2 separate regions of the Homo sapiens genome follow, and region 2 is linked to region 1. Evidence: promoter capture Hi-C in human tissues and cell types (Jung and others, 2019). All regions are on one chromosome and are shown on one strand. Each heading gives the region's core, a stretch centred on a gene start or on the middle of the fragment in contact. The rest is flanking DNA. Distances are from core to core; before and after follow the strand shown.

Region 1 (4,871 bases), core at 767-3,266:
AGTGCGGTGGCGTGATGTGCAAGCTCCGCCTCCTGGGTTCACACCATTCTCCTGCCTCAGCCTCCCGAGTAGCTGGGACTACAGGCGCCCACCACCCCACCCGGTTAATTTTTTTTTTTTTTGTATTTTCAGTAGAGACGTGGTTTCACCGTGTTAGCCAGGATGGTCTCGATCTCCTGACCTCGTGATCCGCCCGCCTCGGCCTCCCAAAGAGCTGGGATTACAGGCGTGAGCCACCGCGCCCGGCCTAAATTTGGTCATTTTTTTGACTGATGTGCTACTTCTTACTAGATTAGGGAGATGCACTTAGCTTTTAAAACCTGAGTTCCTGTTACATGATGAGGCTCTTGGACGTGTGTCTCTGACTCTGCGTTGCGAGCAGAGTGAGGGATGCAGGATGATCCCTGGTCCTGTCCTGTGCTCCTACCATCGAGCCCACTACCTGGCTGGGGAGACTTGTGAACGCATCTCACCAAACCCTTCCCAACAGACCCTCAGCGAGCTCTAGCAGCTGCCAGCTACCTGGCCCAGAAAAGAAATACACCCATCGTCTCCTACTGATATCATTTAGAAAACGGAAGATTTCAACCTACTTAGGAAAGCTATTAATACGGTCTGTTCTCTCACTTAAGTAATTAACGGCCAGGTCACACTAAAAATGTATACATGACGTCAAGTCAAAGCCAAGACATCTACAAAGCCTAAGACGCTGGTTGTGCAGCTGCAGGAAAGACCTGGGATTCAGGCTAGATTCTGAGGAGTAAACTGTGCTTAAAGAGACATTTAGAGACCCATGCAGGCATCTAAGAACCCTGTCACCACTGCGGACTGTGACTGTGGACCTGAAGGCCAAGAGGGTCAGTGGTGCCCTCTCACAGGAGCTGAGGAGTTCACCTTCCCTGCTTTTCTCATCGTGCTGTTCAACCACAGCACTGAACACAGACAGAATCCTCAACAGAACTTCTATGTCTCAGCTCTCAATCATGTGGGTGAGGGAAGATGGATGAGGTCGTGTTTTGATGAAAAAGTGAACAAGCTTACCATTTGTCTGCAGTGGTCCTGCCAGCACGTGTTAATCTTCTTTAAAAATAAAACACTATCTAGTGAGTCTGTACAGATCTGCTAAGGAAAACTTTAAAAATGCTGGCCAATTTAATTATTACCTTTTTTTTTTTTTTTGAGATGGAGTCTCGCTCTGTCGCCCAGGCTGGAGTGCAGTGGCACGATCTTAGCTCAGCAGTGCAGCCTCTGCCTCCCAGGTTCAAGCGATTCTCCTGCCTCAGCCTCTTGAGTAGCTGGGATTACAGGCGTGTGCCACCACGCCCAGCTAATTTTTTGTATTTTTAGTAGAGACGGGGTTTCACCATGTTGGTCAGGCTGATCTCGAACTCCTGACCTTGTGATCCACTGGCCTCAGCCTCCCAAAGTGCCGGGATTACAGGCGTGAGCCACCGCAACCGGCCATTATTACAATTTTAACCCCTTAATTTCAGCTACCTTCTCCACTGAATACTACACACCATTCAGTAACTGGAATACTGAAAGAATATTAGTCTTGAATGTTCATGTCCCCCCAAAATTCATAGGCTGAAGCTCTCACTCTACGGTAATGGTGTTAGGAGGCAGGGCCTCTGGGAGGTGATTAGGTCATGAGAGTGGACAAGCCTCAAGAATGGGGTTACAAAAGAGACCCCAGAGAGCTCCCCTGCCTCTTCCACCACATAAGGATGCAGTGAGAAGGTGCTGGCTATGGACCAGGAAGCGGGGCCCCACCAGACATGCAATCTGCCAGTGCCTTGACCCTGGACCTCCAGCCTCCAGAGCTGTGAGCAACAGACTCCTGCTGTTGATGAGCCACACTCTATGGTGTTTTGTCATGGCAGCCCCAGTGGGCTAAGATACACTAGAAGTTCAATCATGGATCTCTGTATCTCATCACCAATGTGCACTCAGCTTGCCTGTGCTGCTTTCCCTTCCCACGGCCCCGCCTGCCTCTGGCCGCTCGCCACTCCCTCTCCAGCCTCCCTTCATCCTCTCCTTCCTTCACTGCCAGACACCTTCAAGTCCCTGCCGGCAGAAACACACCCAGGCCTTAAGTGCCCTGGGGGTAGGTGGCGGGACAAAAGGCCCCACTTCACAAAGGGCAGACACTGAACATACTCCCACAGGGGGGCTCCTGGAGATGGTGACTGGCCTGGTAAGAGTCACTAGGACTATTTTTTAAAAATTAAAAGAGATGGCACCTCACTATACTCCTAGGCTGGTCTTGAACACGTGGTCTTAAGTAATCCTCCTCAGTCTCCCAAAGTGCTAGGATTACAGGTATGAGCCAGTGTGCCCAGCCTGTGGCAAAGTGCAGCTGGACAGGAAAATGGCTCAGGTTTAACTTCCAGCCTCAATGAAAACTAACATGAACTCTCATCCATGCACCAAATTAGGAACACTCTTACCTTGACTCTTAGAATGTGTATTTTTAGGAAAAGGCCCAAAAAGTAGTTTAGGACAAAGAACCCAGAATATGGGCTCCTAGAGCAAGTGGTCTGGTGTCCCTCAGGTTCATGCAAAGCTGAGAATCATCAATGACAATAAACTGCTTTATGGTTTACGAAACACTCTTCACATCCACTCTCACTGAAAATCTCCCCAACCTCGTGGTGCAGACATTGTTCCCTTTGTACAGATTAAGAAAATGGCTTGTCAAAGGGGACAGAACATGGACTTCCTACATTTTAACTCTTGATCCACCGCCTGTCAGCAACACAATACTGGCCAAACCAAGGGACTTCTCTAGGTCTGTTTCTGCCGTGCAGCAAGACACTTCACACTCAAGAGCCAATGTGAGGTGGTGACAACATCCTCACACACAGAGAGGAGGAAAAACACATCAGTTAAGTAGGATGCACAAATCAGACATGAGCTGGAGTCTCAGGGTGGCAACGAGTGGCCTGACAAAGAAAGAGTGCCAGGGAGGGTAGGGTGCCAGGCAGAGCCTGAGGAGGAATAAACAGTGCTGAGGATAGCCAAGGGGCTCCCGGGGGGTCTGAGTCCTTGTCACACCAGGAAGTGCTGTGACCAAAGCTACAGGGGCCTGGCTAAGACAGCTTACTCTATTTTTTCTTGAGGCTTTGCAGAATTCTCAGAAGCACTGCCAGAAAATTAAAAACAGACACTTACAGCAAAGACCTAATGGTTGAATGGTTAACAGGTTCCTCTGGAAGTACTCTTTACAAATTGTTCAAAATTATAATGGCTCATTATATTAGGAATCTACAGAAACAGTCTGGACAAAACAAAAAAACCCATCCCAAGTGCATCTGGACAGGCTTCAAGGACCCCCAACAGCCATCCTGCAGCTCTGACTCCAGGAGCTGGACGGGAACTGCGGCCTGGACCTCCCAGCAAGCCTCTCTGCGGGCAGGCGGGCCACAGCAGCCGAAGGCGGAGCTTTGCTTCCAGATGAGGGTGCACAGATCCTTTAAACTTAACGGGGTTAAACTGACACCAGTCAATCTGACACCACTGGGCAGCTCAGGTGTTGTGAAGACAGAGTTCCACCTGGGGCAGTGTCTTGTTAAGATGGAAAGTCCAATGTAAAGTGTTCATTAAATGAGAAATACTTCCTCTAAAATAGCTCTGTAAAATCAATATAGATCCTCAATCAATAATTTTTTTGTTATTTCCCACAGAAAAAAACTACAAAATGGTAAGCTAAAATCAGTGTGGCATTTACTAAGTAAGCTTTGGCCTTCTAAACATCAAAATCAATTCCATATTCTGGGATATAACACATAGCCACAATGGTGTGCAAGTAATTCCAGGATGTGAGACACACAGACACCGTGAGTCTGTCAATAGTGTATTCTCGAGATAGGTTCTTCAGCAACCATCCTTTTTCTCACTTCAGAAAAGGGCCAATCTTCATTAAACGATTTATACAGCCTACTGAGACGAGTTAGGCAGGTCTTCAAACAGCAAACAAAATCCAACAGCAGAAATGCTTACACCATAGAAAAAAACCTACCTATCATATCTGTAACTAAAAAAAAAAAGAAAAAGCAAAAAGACGGTGCTTCTGTTGGGGTAGAAGAGGGATACATACATTTTCTACACTTGGTTATCTGCTTCTGCAATTCCAGGAACAAGTGGCCCATCTGCTGCCTGTACCGACAGACCGGACAGACCGCGAGGGGACAGCCCTAGGCCGACCCTCATTCATCCACACAACCCATGAAGGCAGGGGTGCTTGTTTTGTCTCCTCTGATCTGGCCGAGCATTAACAGGGTTCTCTTGGGCTTTCGTCTCTTCATCTGGAAAATATGGTCAATAAAGATACCTACGGCTCAGGGTGTTGTGAGACAAAGCAATTCATGAATGTGCAGAGCTTGGCCTACTGCCAGCAAGTGCTCCGTACACGATATCTGGTCAAGTGAGAACAGGCACAAAGTCTTTCTAAGGAAAGACAAAGCCTGCTGTCGCCAGTGCGGATCATAAAGGCACACTTAGAGGAAACTGGAGCTTTGCAACTTCCCCAACAGCCAAGGTTCCCAGCTCACTCCCGTGCCCTTCCCTTCTGACCACACGGCTATCATGGTGTCCACCACTGCCTGGCATTCTGTGGCTGACCAGAGCTGCAATGCTGTCAAGGTGAACCAGGGGAAGGAAAATGTGAGTTTCATCTATAGTTATCTACAGGTTAGATTCTGAGGACAGTTGGCTTGACATTTTTTTTTTTTTGAGATGGAGTCTCGCTCTGTCACCCAGGCTGGAGTGCAGTGGTGCGATCTCGGCTCACTGCAAGATCTGCCTCCCGGGTTCATGCCATTCTCCTGCCTCAGCCTCCCGAGTAGCTGGGACTACAGGTGCCCGCCACC
Region 2 (4,426 bases), core at 119-2,618, 100 kb after region 1:
GGGCTTAGGGCCTCGGGAGCCCCGGGCCGGGCTTAGGGCCTCAGGATCCTAGAGCATTCCGGCTGCAGAATTTTCTACCAATTCGCGGAAGCATCTGTCTGTTTGCAGAGTAGCTTTGCTGTCGATGATGATGGCATGGGTCCTTCCAGGGCCTTGTTCCACCCACGCTGATCTCATCCCACCACAAGCATCACAGTGGGCTCCTGCAGGGGGCAGTGTGGCCTGAGGGGGAGGAAGAAGGCTGGGCGAGTTGGAGCCACACAGTACCCCATGAAGACGGGAGTCCCGTTCCGCGTGGGAGACAGGAAGATGTGGCTCAGGGGACAGAGGCTGGGGAGGGCAGGGGGTTGAGGGTGGGATGGAGAAGACCCCCGTGTGATGTGACTGGAGCTCCAAGTCACCAGGCGGAGGGGCCGTTTAGGTCAGTGATGCACTGAGGATCCACTCAGCCTTCCCAGGGGTCTCCCCTTTCCACCCCACGAGGGTCTCCCCCTGCTCCGTCTCTCCCTCACACATTCCCTTCCCAGGCCTGGGTCCCCTTGGTGCCCCTGCCTGTCCACTTTGTCCAGGATGCAAACAAGTCTAGGGTCCCTGTCTCTCGTGTCCCCACCAGAGGGGCCTCCTCTTCCTCCGCTGTCCCCAGGCTTGCCTGGCTTCTGTCCTGTCTGGGCCTCTGCTTTTGGACAGACCCGGGGGTCCTGGACAGCCCTGCTGCCCCCACCTGTCCAGCTGTGCATTAGGCAGCTCCTTCCCCGACGGAGCCAGTCCGAGAGTGGTGGCACTGGCTCGGCTCAGCCTCCTCCTCCCTGGGAGCTCCTCTGCTGTGCCCCTCGTCCTGTGCCTCCCTGTGGTGGCAGATGGCTAACTGTCCTGTCTCTGCCTGCCCCAACCCCTCCCTCTCTCTCTGTCTCCGTCTTTCTACCTCTGTCTCTGCCTCTTGGCCTCCCATCTCACTGTGTCTCCGTTTCTCCTTCCCTCTCCCTTTCTCTCTCTGACTCTGTCCTTGTGTTTTTGTCTCTGTGACCTCTGATCCGCCCGTCTGACTCTCAGCCCCAGGGAGCCACAGCTGGCCTTGAGGATGCCGTTGGCTGGAAAGGCCAAGCCCAGCCATCCGAGCCCAGCCTCTGGCAGCACTCAAGGCACCCACCGTCCAGGCTGCAGAGATGAGAGGGTTTCCCCAACTGCCGCCCCTCCCTGCTCCCTGGCGCTGCTTTTGGGTCTGAAGGGCGAGGGGCACTTACGACTTTCCCCGAGCAGCAGGAGGCCAGCCAGGGAGGCACTGAGCAGGACGAGGTGCAGTGGGCGCCCCATGGTGTGGCCGAGTACTGTGTCCCTGTCCTCACTGGGACAGGCTGCTGGAGCAAAGTCCACGCCCCAGCTGGGATGGCTGTTGTCTGGCTGCTTATCACTTGGCTTAGGCCTCCTGATTGGAGCCGAGACCTGCTGGCGAGGCAGGGGAGTGACCACGCTGGGAACACATCCACTCTGGCCCCACCTTCCCCAGGCAGAGCTGGGCGGCCAGAGAGGCCCCGCAGAACCTCATCCTCATCAGTCACCAGGGCCGCGGGTGTGGGGACTTTCTGTTCTAAGAATAAAAACATCATTTCGTGCTCATTTTGTAGTTTCCAGATGTTTACATTTAACTCTCAGTCCTCACATACAAATATCATTTTCCCCATCATTTTTCCAGAAGAGAAAACTAAGTTTAGAGAGCGCAGAAGCCTGAGCCGAGGCCGCTGGCAGTGAGCGTGGGATCTGAGCCCAGGACTTCTGCCCCAAGGCCCTGCTTGTTTCTGGGCGGGCCCTTCCGCTCACAGCCACTCTCTGGGTGGTATCAGGTGGTCTCATGTCACGGGGGGGGCTTGGCATCTGCACCATGGCCTCCCACAGGCCAGGCTGGCACCTGCCCCACCCACCCCCAAACCTTCTGTGCCCGCATGGCCCCAAAACGTACTTCTGTGGGGAGTGACCTTCCCGTGACCATCTGGAGGGACAGGCTGTGTCTGAAGCCCCTCCTGACCTGCCCACCACTGGCCACACTGTTCCGAGGCTGAGAGGGCTTCTGGGCTCGTTCTCCAGTGCAGAAACCTCCCATCACAAGGTCCTGAGTGTCTCTGCTCAATGGCTGTGGGAGTCACTGGGAGGTGCAGCCGGGCTTTTTGCCTCTGGGGTCTCTGGAATAAATGGTCTAAAGCTTGGCCAGTGTGGCGATCACTGCCTGCTATGCCGTAGTGGCCGGGGAGCAATGCCCCTAACACCCACAGCACTGGCCACTGCCTCATGGTGCATCTGCCTTGATGGGTCGCCCTGTCTCGCAGCCACCTGCACATGAGCCTGGTGTGCACACATTGTGCGTCATTGTGCCTGGCACACAGGAGGCACTCACTGAGCCCCACCCGACTGCACAAACTGATGATGCTGGATGCCAACGCCAGGCTGGCCTCCCACGGCGGGCACCACGCACAGCCTGGTCCTCTGAGAAGGGCCTTCCTGGTGGCACCAGATGTCTGACTCCTGCCTCTCCTGGTCTCCACCCTCTGACATCGCCTCTAGGCATGTTTGTATGGAGAGACCAATGCGGTGTGTGCACCAACAGCAGGATGCTCATGGCAGACACGCAGTCTTTGTCATCAATGCTGGGTGGCGATGCTGGCTTTGGTGGCCCAAGCCTGCCGCCTCATCCCACCCTGTCCCAGGCCCATGGCCAGTGGCCTCCCCGTATTCTATCTCGCCACTCACAGAAAGCTGGAGCTGAGCCGTGGCAGGTGGCACGTCCCATATGAAACATGTAGCCTTTGGGGGCGCCCAGGCCCTTCAGCGAAGCCTCTGGGGAGTCCCGGGCCCCCTCCTCCGGCAGCACCATGAGGTGGGCGCCTGCATTTCCCATTGGCAGGAAGGGAGGCTGGCGCTCCACCAGGACCCCGCATGACTCCCCTAGTTTCCTCCTGTGGGTCTGGGTGGGCTCCTGAACTGTCCTCTCATCCCCACCCTCCGCTTCTTCCCAGGAAGAGTCCTGCCAACTTCCACTCCCAAGAAGTCAGAGTGGCTTCCAGAACCCTGGGCTGGGCTTAGGCCCTCAGGAGCCCCGGGCATTCTGGTTGCAGAATTTTCTACCAATTCACTGAAGCATCTGTCTGCAGAGTGGCTTTGCTGTCGATGACCATGGCATGGGCCCTTCCAGGGCCTTGTTCCATCCATGCTGATCTCATCCCACCATAAGCATCACGGTGGGCTCCTGTTTTACACATGAGGAAACTGAGGCATGGTCACTCGGACAAAAGAGAAAGCAGAGCCAGCTCTGACCTGGATCAGGGCCCGCCACTGGCTCCCGTCCCGTTTAGGGGGCATTAGGAACCGGGGTCTGGCCAGGGTCAGCAAGCATCTTCAGCAGAGGTCCTGACACTAACCATGCTGGGCTTGGCGGGTCAGCTGGTCTGTCCGGCTGGACGTCTCTGCCACGGCCACTCCATGGACACTAATATGGGTGTGTTCCCATAAAACTTTATTTACAAGAGCAGGGTGCCTTGGAAGCAGCCCACGGCTGTAGTTCATAGACCCTGTCTGCTCTGAAGTAGATGATGCCTGAGTGCCCCCGAGGTGGGTTGCTGGTGCCTGCCTTGCTGCTGTGAGTGCCAATGGTGCCCACCTTGCTGCTGTGAGTGCCAGTGGTGCCCAGGACGGCCCTGCAGGGATGGCATCGAGTCCACTCTCTGAGCCGTGCTTGCCGGAGTCTGAGTGGGGGCACTGTTTGTCACCTCCCCATTTCTCTGTTCATGTGTTTCTCATTCTTCTTCCACCACCCTGGGGACTCAGCAAGAGTGCAGCTTGCCAGGTCCTCCCACTGCAGCCAGGGCCTGGGAACTTGCATTTAGTGATGCGTGTGTCCCTGACTCTTGAGCAGGTGCTCCCAGGGTCTCTGTGAAATATCATTGACAAGGGCTGTGGCAGGGAGAGAACATCCAATTCCACAGGATCCTGGGAGCTACAGCCTCAAACATCTATCAAACAGCTTTTGTTTTTAAAAAATAGCTTCCATGTGAGGGTTCATTTCAGTGATGTTGAAAATTGTGAAAGAAAAGAGCATCTCAGAGGATGAGCACCGGGGGCTCCAAAAATGAATCATGGGCAACCCAGTGGGTGGCAGGCACCACAGGTGTGCGGAGGAGACGCAGCCGTTTATTGTGAAGCTGGGAAGCAGGTGGGGAATAGTCTGTGCAGCCCGGCACCCAGCGAAGGGAGAAATACATTTGGGGGAGAGTTTGGGGGCATTCGCCACCATGCATGGTGATGCTTCTGAATTGTCTGAAGTGAAGATGATAATGGATAAGAACCAGAAAAGTGAGAGCTAAACAACCGCCTTCAGAGGACAGCACACATGGAGTCAGCATCGGTGTGTGTGCATCTGTGTGTGCATCTGTGTGTGTAC

What was found. The method cuts DNA at HindIII sites, captures the fragments that hold promoters and counts their contacts. A contact is called where the count stands out against the background at its distance.
Region 2: the fragment with the promoter of F10 here is called in contact with a fragment that was not itself captured in region 1 in 3 of the 25 tissues and cell types used here (IMR-90 fibroblasts, dorsolateral prefrontal cortex and heart left ventricle).

The regions. Positions count from the first base shown.
Region 1 is chr13:113,224,216-113,229,086 of GRCh38, reverse strand. CUL4A (cullin 4A) reads right to left here. Exons shown (of 20, transcript NM_001008895.4): 4 at 1,042-1,111. Among named protein-coding and RNA genes, the nearest start is that of CUL4A, 17 kb to the right of the region's middle. The HindIII fragment of the contact is 5,587 bases long and covers 1-4,809 here.
Region 2 is chr13:113,119,741-113,124,166 of GRCh38, reverse strand. It overlaps F10 (coagulation factor X), which reads right to left and starts at 1,368. Exons shown (of 8, transcript NM_000504.4): 1 at 1,242-1,368. The coding sequence starts at 1,311. It overlaps F7 (coagulation factor VII), which reads right to left. Exons shown (of 8, transcript NM_019616.4): 8 at 3,482-4,426. The HindIII fragment of the contact is 14,274 bases long and covers 1-4,426 here.